Linked DNA regions of Homo sapiens: regions 1 and 2 are each linked to region 3. Evidence: promoter capture Hi-C in human tissues and cell types (Jung and others, 2019). All regions are on one chromosome and are shown on one strand. The core of a region is centred on a gene start or on the middle of the fragment in contact, and the rest is flanking DNA. Distances in the headings are between cores, read along the strand shown. Region 1 has its middle 20 kb from the start of NEK3. Region 2 has its middle 7.9 kb from the start of INTS6-AS1. Region 3 holds the start of CCDC70 (coiled-coil domain containing 70).

Region 1 (4,251 bases), core at 167-2,666, 320 kb before region 3:
GTTCACCCTGATATGACTTGGGCAGGGTCTGAGGTATCAACCCCAGACAACCCAGGCCTGGACTTATTGCTTCTGTTGGAAATTGACAGTTCACACTGGCCTTTCTCAGAATGTTGGCACTGCCACTGACTAATTCTGTGACCGGGGCACCTTTTATAGCCTTCATCAGCCTGTTTCCCCAGCTGTAAAATGCTGAAAGTGAAACCTAGCTTAAATGGCTTTCTTGAGGAATAGAAAAGAAACCACGTATAAACTATCTGGTACATAGTAGGTGCTCAGCAAATGTCCATTCCCTTTCTCTGTTGTACATTCCTCTTTTGAAGTTCAGTGCTTTACCAAGGCATTTCCTCTCTGCTGTGACTTGCTTTAATCCACCATCCTGTTCACCGGATGTTCGGTTGAGGGAGAAGAATGCAAGGCACTGAGGAAAATTCTGGCATAAAAACCTTTGTTTACAAATAACTTAGGAACCTGCTAGAGGAAAACTTGTATGACTTGAGATCACATTATTTAACGTTCATATGGTATTTGCATTTTTTCCAGTTCTATTTAGTAGAGAAAAGTAACTTAGTCCATAAAAAAAGAATTTGAAATTATTTTTAAAATTAACCCTCCAGTTTATAAACTGGATTTTAATCTGCCAGTAAGTTTATTCAAGTAAATATGTAAATTGATGCATAAAGCATATCAAGTTTGCAAGACAATGTTACTTATTAACTCTGATATTAATTTCAATAGTTAATTAAAAATCGTCATGTAAAGAAAGTTATTTTACAGAATGCTTTATGAAAGGGAATGTTGTGATTTACCTATGCAATCTTTTGTAATTATAATTTGTAATTAAACATTGCAATGTTTTCTGCCCTTAAAAACAAATGTCGACTTCAACAGCTTCTTTTTTGCATAGTTTTATAGTTTTTCACAACATAGAGTTTTTAAAACTTAATATAAAAGGGAACAAATAAAAATTATGGCAAATTGAGCTAATCTTTTCAATTAGATATTTTGGAAATTAAGTTGCTGTAACTGATTTGTTGTATTATGAAGCAAAACTTCAAGTGCACATTTCTGTTTTTAGTCTATCGGTCCTAAAAATGTGGCAATTTAGGTAAGATGTTTGATGTGCGTCAGTGGAATTATTTTGAATTTTTACATAGAATATTTCACTTAAATTTTTTTCTCATAATTTTTGTTGACAGTTTAAAATATATTCATTAAAATATTCTTTTTTTTTTTTTGTCTTAGGAAAAACATATTCAAGGGGAAGAGATGTAATAGTTTTGACGTGACGACAGTTACTAAAGAAGCACCTGAACAGGTTTGTTAAGAATAACTGTTTCTCAGGTGGAGAAATATTCCATCTTTACAAGATGTCCTGAAGGTTTTGATGGTGTAATAGTCGGATATTTTAATATTCCCTCCTGTCATTGGCCTGGATCCGAATGATGAATGTGGCGGTTGTTAGAAGGAAAACTCGGGACTATAACGTCCCCCCAAATTGGGAAGGCATCGAGAGACCAAAGAATAATTTGGGCAAGTCCAGCTTGATGAATAGATGAGTTTACTAGAACTTACCTACTGGACATTTCTGGGCAGCTGTAGAGTCACCCTGCCTCTTATCTCTAAGCTGCTTTTAAGCTTATATTCTGGCTGTTTGCCTACTGTGTGTGCACGATGAGACTGTTTTCCTTGATATGTTTTGAGGTATGCCCTGGGATGTTTGGGTTCTCAGGGACACCTGCTCCTCAGCTAGGCACTGTGGCCTTGGCTCCCTGCCCAGCCTTCAGGGTTCAAGCAACACACATACACAGTAACCTGGTGGGGGACATACCACACTACAGTTGTTGAGATTGCTAGTTGTGGTTCAGTTTCCCTCTTGAAATGTTGCATTCTGTGAGATAATGGGAGGTGAGTATTACCGATTACATGAATCCAGAGGTCCAGATTAGCCCCTAATTTGGGTTAGAACATTATTAATCACCTACCATTTGCAGTGTATCTCTATGCTATTACATAAAGACATACTGGTTCCTGTCCCTAGGCAGCTTGCTATCTAGAAGAGGAGATAGCATTTATAAAATAACTTATTGAAGTGATTTAGTGATTGTTCAGGAGATGGGAAGAACATTCAAGGAATATATTTAAGAGACTTGTGTTTTTTTCTTAACACATGGTTGGTCTTTGTTCTCTGTTCTTCCCCTTTTCTTTGGGTAAGAAATTTACCATTTAAGTCTAAAAGAGAAATGAGTGTCCTCTTGCTTGGCATTAAATTTGGTTTACTAGTAAAATAAATGAAGAAACTCAATACAGATGGTCTCCAGAGTGTAAGTGATGAGCATTTCTAATGAATAGAAGTTAGTTTTTTGGACTTTGATAGAAATAATGTTGTATATGCACTTAGGAGGCTGAGATGACAGGATGGCTTGGGATTAGGAGTTCAAGACCAGCCTGGGCAACATAGTGAGATCCTTTCTGTAAAAAAATAGAAAAAAATTATCTGGGTATGGTGGTGCATGCCTATAGTCCTAGCAACCTGGGAGGTTGAGGTGGGAGGATCACTGGAGCCCAGAATTCAATGCTGCAATGAGCTACAATTGTGCCATAACACTCCAGCCTAAGTGACAGAGTGAGACCCCCCCTCAAAGGAGAAAAAAAAATGTTGTACGTGATAGATAAGTTCCTAGGCCAGCCTCCAATGGCTCATTTAATCTTTCTACCAGTTACTTACATGAACTTCTGATTTTCCCCCTATTTAATAAACTATGTTAGAGGCTAGATCTCATTCATGTCTATATACCCTATAGCATCTACTCATGTGGCTTACAGATCATAGGAACTAGTTATCTTAAATCTTAAATTCTTTTTGAAGAAACTGTAGTATAAAATATACATCTATAAAGGAAAGTAGTGAATTCAATTAACGTTTGTTCGTTAGAACTGAAGGTGAAGCTAAAAGAACAACCCCCTGTATTACAAAAACTGCATTCTGTTGTGTATGATAAAAAGGAAATGCAAAATGCATAGGGACAATGAATCACCTCTCCCCTGCTCAAATGGTATCCGTTAAGTGTGCATCAGAAAGGAATTTTTTGTCAGGGCAGCTGCTGTTGTCCAGCCAAAAGAGATACTTGGATTCCGGAAGAAGCCAGCTTACTTTTTAAAATAAAAAAATCTTATTTCTTAAACTGAAATTAGTTGGCAAGGAGGCATTTAAATTTTATGTATTTTATAAAACAGTATCAAATGATTATATTCTAGTGAGGAAAGTAGCACACAAATTTATGTAATAATTTAATGAAGTTACTGTTTGAATGTGCTGTACTTGCATGAGTCTAAAGAATGTTTTTTGTTTCCATTTAAGTACAAGAATAACAAAATGTGGAAACTTAAATTTAGCAGTTGTTCATTGTTGTTATCTTATATCCCAAACAATGCTGGAAATATAGTTGGCATTCAGTAATTTTTTTATTGACCGATTGATTGAGTTATTCTGTTCCATGATTCCCACGTCTTGTTCCCCACTAAATTCTTACCACTGCTACAAAGGATATTGTCATAGGCCCTACTGGTTATCCGAGAGTTGACAGGCAGTATAGCTCAACAGAAACAGTGTTGGTGTTGTGTAGAACTGGATTCAAATTCCGATTCTGCTGCACTAAGCTTTCCCCACCTATAAAATGGGGGTTAGTACATACATCTCCGGGATTAAATGAGGTCATCTGAGAAAAGTGTGAGGCACAGTGCCTGGAACGTAGTACACATTTAATAAATGTTTGCAACTATTAGCAAGTGTAAAATATGATGATCCTGATGATGATGGAAAAGACATAGGTCGGTCAGTGTCCACCAAATAAAAGATAACTGAGATAGTTATTTTATTGGTGTGATTGCTCTGTAAATGTGGCTAGTTAAGCCTAACAACTGTGATAGTTACCCAGTATCAGATGATCTAGGTGAAAATACTTAATTTCTGCCAGTCAGTGTGTGATTAGACACATTTCTGCACATAAAGGCTCACAGAAACCCATTCAGAAAAAGCAAATAGATAAAATAAGGCTTACCCAGGTAGAAGAGTAAATGAGCTATTTGTTGACATGCTTTAGGGGGCTTGACAAAAGTGTGTAAACAGGTAGGCTGGAGGATAAATCATATGCAGTCTATGCCTCTAGCCCAGAAAGGTCAAAAATGTTTGAAAAAATAATTAAGGTCCAAAAATACAGGGAAAAAAGTAGCCAAGGGATAGATATTGAT
Region 2 (4,207 bases), core at 1,642-4,141, 400 kb after region 3:
GTCATGGCAGGCACCTGTAATCCCAGCTACTTGGGAGGCTGAGGCAGGAGAACTGCTTGAACCTGGGAGGTGGAGGTTGCAGTGAGCCGAGATCGCGCCACTGCATTCTGGCCCAGATGACAGAGCGACACTCTGTCAAAAACAAAACAAAACAAAACAAAAAACCATAAACCAGATTGTTTATAAAAAACAGAAATTTCTCATACTTCTGGAGACTAGGAAGTCGAAGATCAAGGTGCCGGCAGATTTGCTGTCTGGTGAGGACCTGGTTTGTAGATGGTGCCTTCTTGCTCTGTCATCACATGATGTGACTGAGCTCCCCCAGGCCTCTTTTATAAAGGCACTAATCTCATTCATGAGGTCTCTGCCTAATCACCTCCCAAAGGTCCTGCCTCTTAATATCATCACCTTGGGGGTCAGGATTTGAACATATGAATTTTGATAGGACACAAACATTCAGACTACAGCACTCCAGTAAAATAAATAGATAAAATTGGGTTTTCCTGAGGTATCTGCACAGCTCTGTCCACTCTCTACTGAAACATCATTGACACCCTCAGTGACGCCTTTCCGTTCTCCATGTCTTAAACTCCAAACCTCCCTCTGCAGCACTTCATTTCCTTTCCCTGCTTTATTCTTCCTCTTTAACACTTAACGTGAATATACCACATATTATACTTGTCTACCTCTCCCACTAGAATGTAAACTTCATAAGGACAGGCATTATTTCCCGTTTTATTCATTCCTACATTCCCAGCTCCTACACACAGTAGACATTCAATAAATATTTGTTAAGCAAATGACTGAATAAACACCATTTGTCCTTTAGAAATGAGTTATACATCTTATTAGAATTTACAATTATCAGTAGCTTGATGATATTCACCTTATATGACACAAGATGGCTTTAATCACACAATATCATGATTCTGCCTGCATCAACTCAGTTCACCAAGTCCTGTCCATTCTATCATCACAATGTCTTTGATAATCCTCTTCTCACCTTCCCTGTTGCCACTTCCACAGTGCTTTTATGTGTTCTGTGGATTAATGCAGAAATTGTCAACTGGGCACTGTGGCTCACGCGGTGGCTCCCAGCACTTTGGGAGGCTGAGGGTGGGTCACTTGAGTCAAGGAGTTTGAGACCAGCCTGGGCAACATGGCAAAACCCTATCTCTACTAAAAACACAAAAATTAGCTGAGTGTGGTGGTGCATGCCTGTAATCCCAGCTACTTGGAAGGCTGAGACACAAGGATTGCTTGAACCTGGGAGGCAGAGGTTGTAGTGACCAGATTGTGCCACTGCACTCCAGCCTAGGCTACAGAATGAGATTCCATCTAAAAAAAAAAAAAAAAAGAAATTGTCTAACTCGTCTCCTTGCCCACTGTCTTCTCATTCTAATCCATTCTCCAAATCACTACTGAATTTATCTTTCTAAAATAAGAATCTGATTATTGGGTGTCTTAGTCTGTTTTGCATTGCTATAAAAGAATACCCAAGGCTGGGTAATTTATAAAGAAAAGAGGTTTAAGCTGGGTGCTGTGGCTCACGCCTGTAATCCCACCACTTTGGAAGGCTGAGGCGGGCAGATCACCTGAGGTAATGAGTTCTAGACCAGCCCGGCCAACATAGTGAAACCCTGTCTGTACTAAAAATACAAAATTAGCTGGGCATGGTGGCGGGTGCCTGTAATCCCAGCTACTTGGGAGGCTGAGGCAGGAGAATCACTTGAACCTGGGAGGTGGAGGTTGCAGTGAGCCAAGATAGCGCCATTGTACTTCAGCCTGGGCAACAGGGAGAGACTCTGTCTCAAAAAAAAAAAAAAAAAAGAAAAAAAAAGAAAAAGAGGTTTACTTGGCGCATGGTTCTGCAGGCTGTACAAGATGCATGCCTGGCATAAGACTCTGATTTTTTTTTCTTTTTTTGCTATTAATCTTGCCACATTATTTTCAATTACGTACAAAGATCTAACATGTCACCCTGGGACCATTTCACCCACTGCTCTGTTTGGCAGTCTTTTGTCTCTCTCTTCAGCAATGGTGAGGCGGATACCCTTTCCTCAGGGAAGAGAAATCCATAGTTTGTTGCCCTTGCCAATAACAAAAATGTTGGAAAGTTGAGTGGCAAAGCTGTTGCCATTGGCATCTTCCATGTGAACAATGTCAAAAGATCCAGGGTGCCTCTCTCTGTTGGTGATCACACCAATTCTTCCCAGGTTAGCACCTCCAGTCACCATACACAGGTGACCAGTGTCGAATTTGATGAAATCAGTAATCTTGCCAGTCTCCAAATCAATCTGAATGGTATCATTCACCTTGATAAGGGGATCAGTGTAGCGGATGGTGCGACCATCATGAGTCACCAGATGAGGGATTCCTTTTGTTCCCAGAAAGATTTTTCTCACTTTGCACAACTTGTACTTGGCCTCCTCAGGTGTAATATGATGTACAGCAAAGAGACTCTTGGTGTCATAGATCAGAGAGAAATTCTCTTCTGTCTTGTCAATGCTGATGGCCTCCATGAATCCAGCAGGGTAGGTTATATCAGTTTAGACCTTGCCATCAATTTTAATAAACCGCTGCATGCAAATCTTCTTTACTTCATCTCCTTCCAGGGCATACTTAAGTCTGTTCCTTAGGAAAATGATGAGGGGAAGACACTCTCAACTTGTGGGGACTGGTGGATGGACAAGGAGCAAACATACTGGTCAATTTATCCAGCATCCAGTGCTTTGGAGCTGCTACTCACTTCAGATGCTTCTTGGGACCACAAGCCATGGCTGCGTTAGGCAAGGAAAGAGCGAGCCTCTGCTTTTGGAAGCTTCCAATGATGGTGGAAGGGGAAAGAGAGTGGTATGTCAGATGACGAGAGAGGAAGCAAGAGGGAAACGGGAGAAAGGTCCCAGGCTCTTTTTAACAACCAGACCTTGCAGAAACAAAGAGTGAGAATTCACTCAATCCTCAGACAATGGCACCAAGCCATTCATGAGGGACTTGTCCCCGTAATCCAATCACCTCCCACCAGACCCCACCATCAATATTGGGGATCAGATTTCAACATGAGATTTGATATAGCCAAATTATATCATCAGGGTCACTCCCTGACCCCAAAACTTTGTCTATCACCCAAATAATAAGATTCAAAAATTTTTTAGTTGAGCACATGAAACTCTTCTTGACATGGCCCAGCATCCGGTCCTACCACTCTCCCACACATGTAGTTGCAGCTCGAAACTGCCCTTTCTTACCCATTCATGCATCCTCATGACTTCTGTCTGCCCAAATATCACTTCCTTTGTGAGAGTTAGGTGCTCTATCCTCAGTGCTCACAGTGCTCTTTGTACATTCTCCTAATAACACATATTTTAATAGCTGCCAGCAATAAATGATATTTTGCCAAATCTAAGATGTACATCTTTCCAATATTTCTAAAACTGGAATGGCATCTTACAATCATGGTGTCTTACAATGCTGTCACCAGAAGGTAGTTGTGATGTAGTTGTCTTAGCCTGAACATGTGCAAACTTCCTGGTTATTCCTGGTGGCATGATTAGACAACTGCAAACCCTTGACATTTCAGTCAACTAATCATTTAAAGAAAGGATTTAAATCCTGGTTGTGATCTGAAAACCCTTCATTGATACCTCTGAGTTGCAATAAGAAAGCACCAGCATTGAAACTCATAGAATGGACCCCAACAGCTTGCAAAAAAAACCCAAAGATAATAGTGGAATATTATTTTAAAAAATGTTGCATCACTAATGCTCTTAGCAGAATTCAATACAATGTGGAAAAATTCTATGTGTCATAGTTTAAGTAGCAGCATTTCCCTCCGGCCCCCTCCATGGTCCAAAAATAATGGTGTTTGTTACAACTCATGGTCTTAAAATTGATAAAATATGGTATGTTACCTCAAATTGTCAAACGAACCCTATAAGTCATCTTATTTTATGCCTGGGGTCTGCTGACATCATAATATTGTATTCTCATTATCTGTTATCTGTCTTGTCTTTCCACTAGATTATAAATTCTCTGAGGACCTAACACAGTGGCTGTCATATATTAGGTGTGGAATTAATATTAGTTGAAAGAATGACTGCAATGTTCATGTTCTTCTGCTGTTCCACTTTGATTCTAATTGTCAATCTGGATGTACCCCTTTTCAGGGCTGATCTTGAATTGTCTGAGACTTCAACTATTACTGTGA
Region 3 (4,479 bases), core at 1,066-3,565:
GCTAGCAGGACTCTTTCTTTGCTTGGTGGCGGTTTCATGTGTGTTGTTATAAAAATGTGTTAAGTGGTACATGGATATTTTATGTACCCCAGTCAATACAGTATATTTCACAATAAAATAAAAGCTGGGAGGAAGAAAGAAGGAAAAGAAAAAAAGAAAAGAAAAAGAGAGGGAGGGAAGGAAGGAAGGGAGGGAAGGAAGGGAGGGAGGGAAGGAGAAAGATCTTCAAACATTGCCATATATCTGAGGAATCAGATAGCAGAATTATCCATAGCAATCCCTGTAACTACAAACATGAATCAAGGGATGAGAAAAAGTGCTGGACATAGGAAGGTGGTTAGAGTGCAGTAAAGAGCTCAGTGTTGTCAGATAAGGAGTGCAGGCACATGCTGACAGCATTGTTTTCCATTTTGTGCTTTCTGGAGGAAGCTGCCAGGGTCCGGCCCTCACTCAGTGGATCTCACCAACCCATCATCCGTGAGACCTATTGGGGAAATTTTCAGGGCTTTCTCTGTATTTTTCCATTTCTGGTTTAGGAACAGGGAGTGGAGGAGGAGAAAAGACACATAGCTGGTGTGTGTGTGTGTGTGTGTGTGTGTGTGTGTGTGTGTCTGTGTGCGCGTGCATATGAAGACACAGTGGCTAGGCTGTGGACAGCTGGTGGCATCACCATCCATCCAGTCACACAAACCAGAACCAGGGGCACATCCTTGACCTTTCCCTCTCCCTCACCAGACTTCTCTCCTCAACCATCAAGCCCTCCTAGCCGAGATCCAGATCCTTAACATTTCCTGAAACCATGCCCCTGTTCCATCTCCCCCATGACAGCCAGGTCAGGCCAGGATGCCTGTAACAGTCTCGCTGCTCTCTGTATTGATCTTACCCTCTCATCTGCCCCTGCACTGTAGCCCTACAGGTGTTTTCTAGAACACTCTCTCGTCCTATCACATCAGTTCACACACCTTCAAAGACCCTGTAGCCCAAAGATCAAAGCTGAACGCCCTAGGAAGGCCTTGTGCAGCCCAACTCCAGCTTGCTTCTCCCTCTCCTTCCTACCCAGCCTGCACCCAACTCCAAATCTAAGGCCCAGTATTAACGGGCTCTATTCAGCTCTTGGCACTCTGCCTGCAGTTTCCTGCCTGTGTGGTGAAGCACATGTCGCATCCTCTACTGAGAGCCCCTTTTGTTCCTGTGGTGGGCTTGAATTCCTGTACATCCTTTCCCCTCTGAAAGCTACTCGGACCCTCCAGACAAAGTTCCTCGCCACCTCTGCGATACTGTCTGTCTGTTACTCCACTATTACTTGTCACACTTGATTGAAATTAGGTGTGGACATGTCTTCCTGACATCTCTGTAACCCAGCAGCTATCATAATATAACGCCGCCTATATAGGAGGGAATTGGTGAAAATGTTGGTTGAATTGAACTGAATTGAACTGCATTTTGGAAATTTGATTTTCTATGTTGTATGGCTCTTTGCCTAGAATCCCTCCAATATGTGAAGTCCTCCCTCACTTCCATGTCATGCTGGCCCCCTCTCCCTGGATATCCTTGCCCAACCTCACTTCAGTTCACCTAGCGAATCCTTCAGCACTCAGATACCTCCTCCAGGCCATCTCTCCTAAGCTCAGACTGAGCATGTGCCCTTCCTGTCCCACTAGAAACACCTCATCTTCCATCTCTATGTCTGGCATCCAGCGAAATGTTCTGCCACAGGATAGGTGTTCAGGAAATAGTAGCTGGATGAATGGGCGTCTACTGGGTTAGGATGTTGGAAAACATTCACCTCCAAGTTTTTCTCAAGTGAACACTAAACTTTCTTTAAGAAAGAAAGAAAATAAGAACCATATCAAATAGGTAGATGTGTATTAAAATATAAAGTACAATATAAAACTGTAGATGTGTATCTGTATAGCTGTAAAAACATGCACTAAAGATACATGCCCAGTTTTCAGTTATACTGTAAGACTAGGAGCTTCTTTTTAAGGAAAATATTATATATTACCTTATGCTTAGAACAAATACTATACAGTCTAAAGCCAACAGTTACTTACTGCTTAGCTGCTTCCCACTGGGGTAAGTCCTGTAGCCCTCAGAGGGGGCAGGCGGCCATTGTCATGTCAGATCCCCAGTGATGCGTGCTTGCAGGCTTGCCCCAACAATGCTGGCAGTGACCTGTCTGTGCCCTTTCAGTCCTGACTCACAGGATGGAGATGGCCAAGAAGGGGACCCCTATAAAAGACTTTAAGGAAAGGAGGGGGCACTTGAAAGGTTTGAAAGAGTTCCTCTTCAATCTTTGACTTCACTGATAGGGCAGTGCTGTTGATGACTCACAAGTGATTGTTACCTTAGATTCTGTCAGCATTGGTTCCGGGAGCATGGTTCTAGGAAGTCATGTTCTGGTGGGGGCTTTGTGTGGGATGAATCACTTCTCTTGCTGCTTTCCAGATTCTTCGTCTTTGGCTTTTGATAGTTTGACTATGATGTGTCTTGGTCTTGAGGTTTATTCTACTTGGAGATTGTTGAGCTTCTTGGATATGCAGATTTGATGCCGTTTTTCATCAAATTTCAGAAGTTTTTGGCCATTATTTCTTCAAATATTCTTTCATCCATTTTCTCTGTCTCCTCTCCTTCTAGGGCTCATATTATGTGAATACTAGTAGCGTGAGTGTGTCCCCCAGGTCTCTAAAGTTACGTTCATTTTTCTTCATTCTTTTTTCTTTCTGTTGCTTAGATTAGATAATCTCAATTAACCTGTTTACAAGTTCATGGATTTTTTTCTTCTGTCAGTTCAAATATGCTGTTGAATCCCTCTTTAATTTTTCATTTTCAACTCCAGAATTTTTGTCATGTAGTAAAATTTTTAAATAGTCAAGTAAATTAACATATCCATCATCTCATATAGTTACCCTTTTTTGTGCACTGTAGCAAGAGCACCCACAATCTACTCTCTTAGCAAAAATCTTTAATACAGTGTTATTAACTACAGTCCTCATGTTGTACCTTAGATCTCTAAATTATTTATCCTATATATCTGCAACTTTGTACCCTTTGATTTCCCTCTTCCCGTCCACTCCCCACACGTAGCAGCTGCCATTTTATTCTTTGTCTGTGTATTTGACTTTTTTCTTACTTCTTCTTTTTAATTTTTTTAATATTCTACATATAAGTGAAGTTGTGCAGCATTTTTCTTTCTGTGTCTGGCTTATTTCACTTAGCATAATATTCTCCAGTTTCATCTATCTTGTGACAAACGGCAGGATTCTCTGTTTATGACTGAATAATATTCCACTTTATATACATGCTGCAATTTCTTTATCCATTCATCTGTCAGTGGACCCCTAGTCCATCCAGAATTTCTCCAGAAATTTTCACTGTGTCTCCAGAATTTGTTTGGTTATATATAGAAAAGGATATATGTGCTTTTCTATATACATATATATACACACACACACACACACACACTTCTATATATATATTTTTTCTATATATCTATATAAAAGTATATGTATACAAAGTGTGTGTGTGTGTATATATATATATACACACACACATATATATATGTATGCACACATACTTTTCTGTCTCTTTTTGGTAAGGCATAGTTTTTAATTCTTTCCTTTAATGCTTTTTTTTTTTTTTTTTGAGACATGTTTCTGTCACTCAGGCTGGAGTGCAATGGCATGGTATGATCTTGGCTAACTGCAGCCTCAATTTCCTGGACTCAAGTGATCATCCCACCTCAGCCTCTCAAGTAGCTGGGACTACAGGCGTGCGCCACCAGACCTAGCTAATTTTTTGTGTTTTTTTAGAGATAAGGTTTCTCCATGTTGCCCAGGCTGGCCTCAAACTTCTAGGCTCAAGTGATCTACCCATTCGGCTTCCCAAACTGTTGGGATTATAGGTGTGAGCCATCACACCTGGCCTTGTTTTCCTTTAATTCTTTTGGAATGGTTTCTTTTAGTTCTTTAACTACATTTGTAATAGCTGACTAAAAATCTTGGTTTAATCGCCCAATATCTGCAATTCCTCAGAGACAGTTTATAACCAAAAAGACAATTACTCAGAGAATAACAGTTTCAGGCCAGGCATGGTGGCTCATGCCTGTAATCCTAGCACTTTGGGAGGCCGAGGAGGGAGGATGGTTTGAGCGTCCTCCTGGTAGGAGTTTGAGACCAGCCAGAGCAACATAACAAGACCCTGTCTCTACAAAACTAAAATAAATTAGTCAGTTGTGGTGGTGCATGCCTGTAGTCCCAGCTGCTTGGAAGGCTGAGGAAGGAAGGATCATTTCAGTGCAGGAGGTCGAGCTGCAGTGAGCTATGATCGTGCCACTGCACTCCAGCCTGGGTGACAGAGTGAGACCCTGTCTCAAAACAAAAAAAAAAATAGAATAACAGTTTCTACTGTCTGCTTTTCCCCCTTTATATATAACTCTGTTTGCAATAAAGGGTTTCCTGTTTCTTTATGCCTCAAAAA

The links. The method cuts DNA at HindIII sites, captures the fragments that hold promoters and counts their contacts. A contact is called where the count stands out against the background at its distance.
Region 1: a contact is called between a fragment that was not itself captured here and the fragment with the promoter of CCDC70 in region 3, in 2 of the 25 tissues and cell types used here (liver and mesendoderm cells).
Region 2: a contact is called between a fragment that was not itself captured here and the fragment with the promoter of CCDC70 in region 3, in 1 of the 25 tissues and cell types used here (hippocampus).

What each region holds. Positions count from the first base shown.
Region 1 is chr13:52,177,649-52,181,899 of GRCh38, reverse strand. It overlaps the pseudogene MRPS31P5. Among named protein-coding and RNA genes, the nearest start is that of NEK3, 20 kb to the right of the region's middle. The HindIII fragment of the contact is 6,460 bases long and covers 1-4,251 here.
Region 2 is chr13:51,459,099-51,463,305 of GRCh38, reverse strand. It overlaps the pseudogene RPS4XP16. Among named protein-coding and RNA genes, the nearest start is that of INTS6-AS1, 7.9 kb to the right of the region's middle. The HindIII fragment of the contact is 4,498 bases long and covers 643-4,207 here.
Region 3 is chr13:51,859,805-51,864,283 of GRCh38, reverse strand. It overlaps CCDC70 (coiled-coil domain containing 70), which reads right to left and starts at 2,315. Exons shown (of 2, transcript NM_031290.4): 1 at 2,055-2,315. It also overlaps a transcript of TMEM272 not described here. RefSeq lists an enhancer at 1,514-2,713. The HindIII fragment of the contact is 9,463 bases long and covers 1-4,479 here.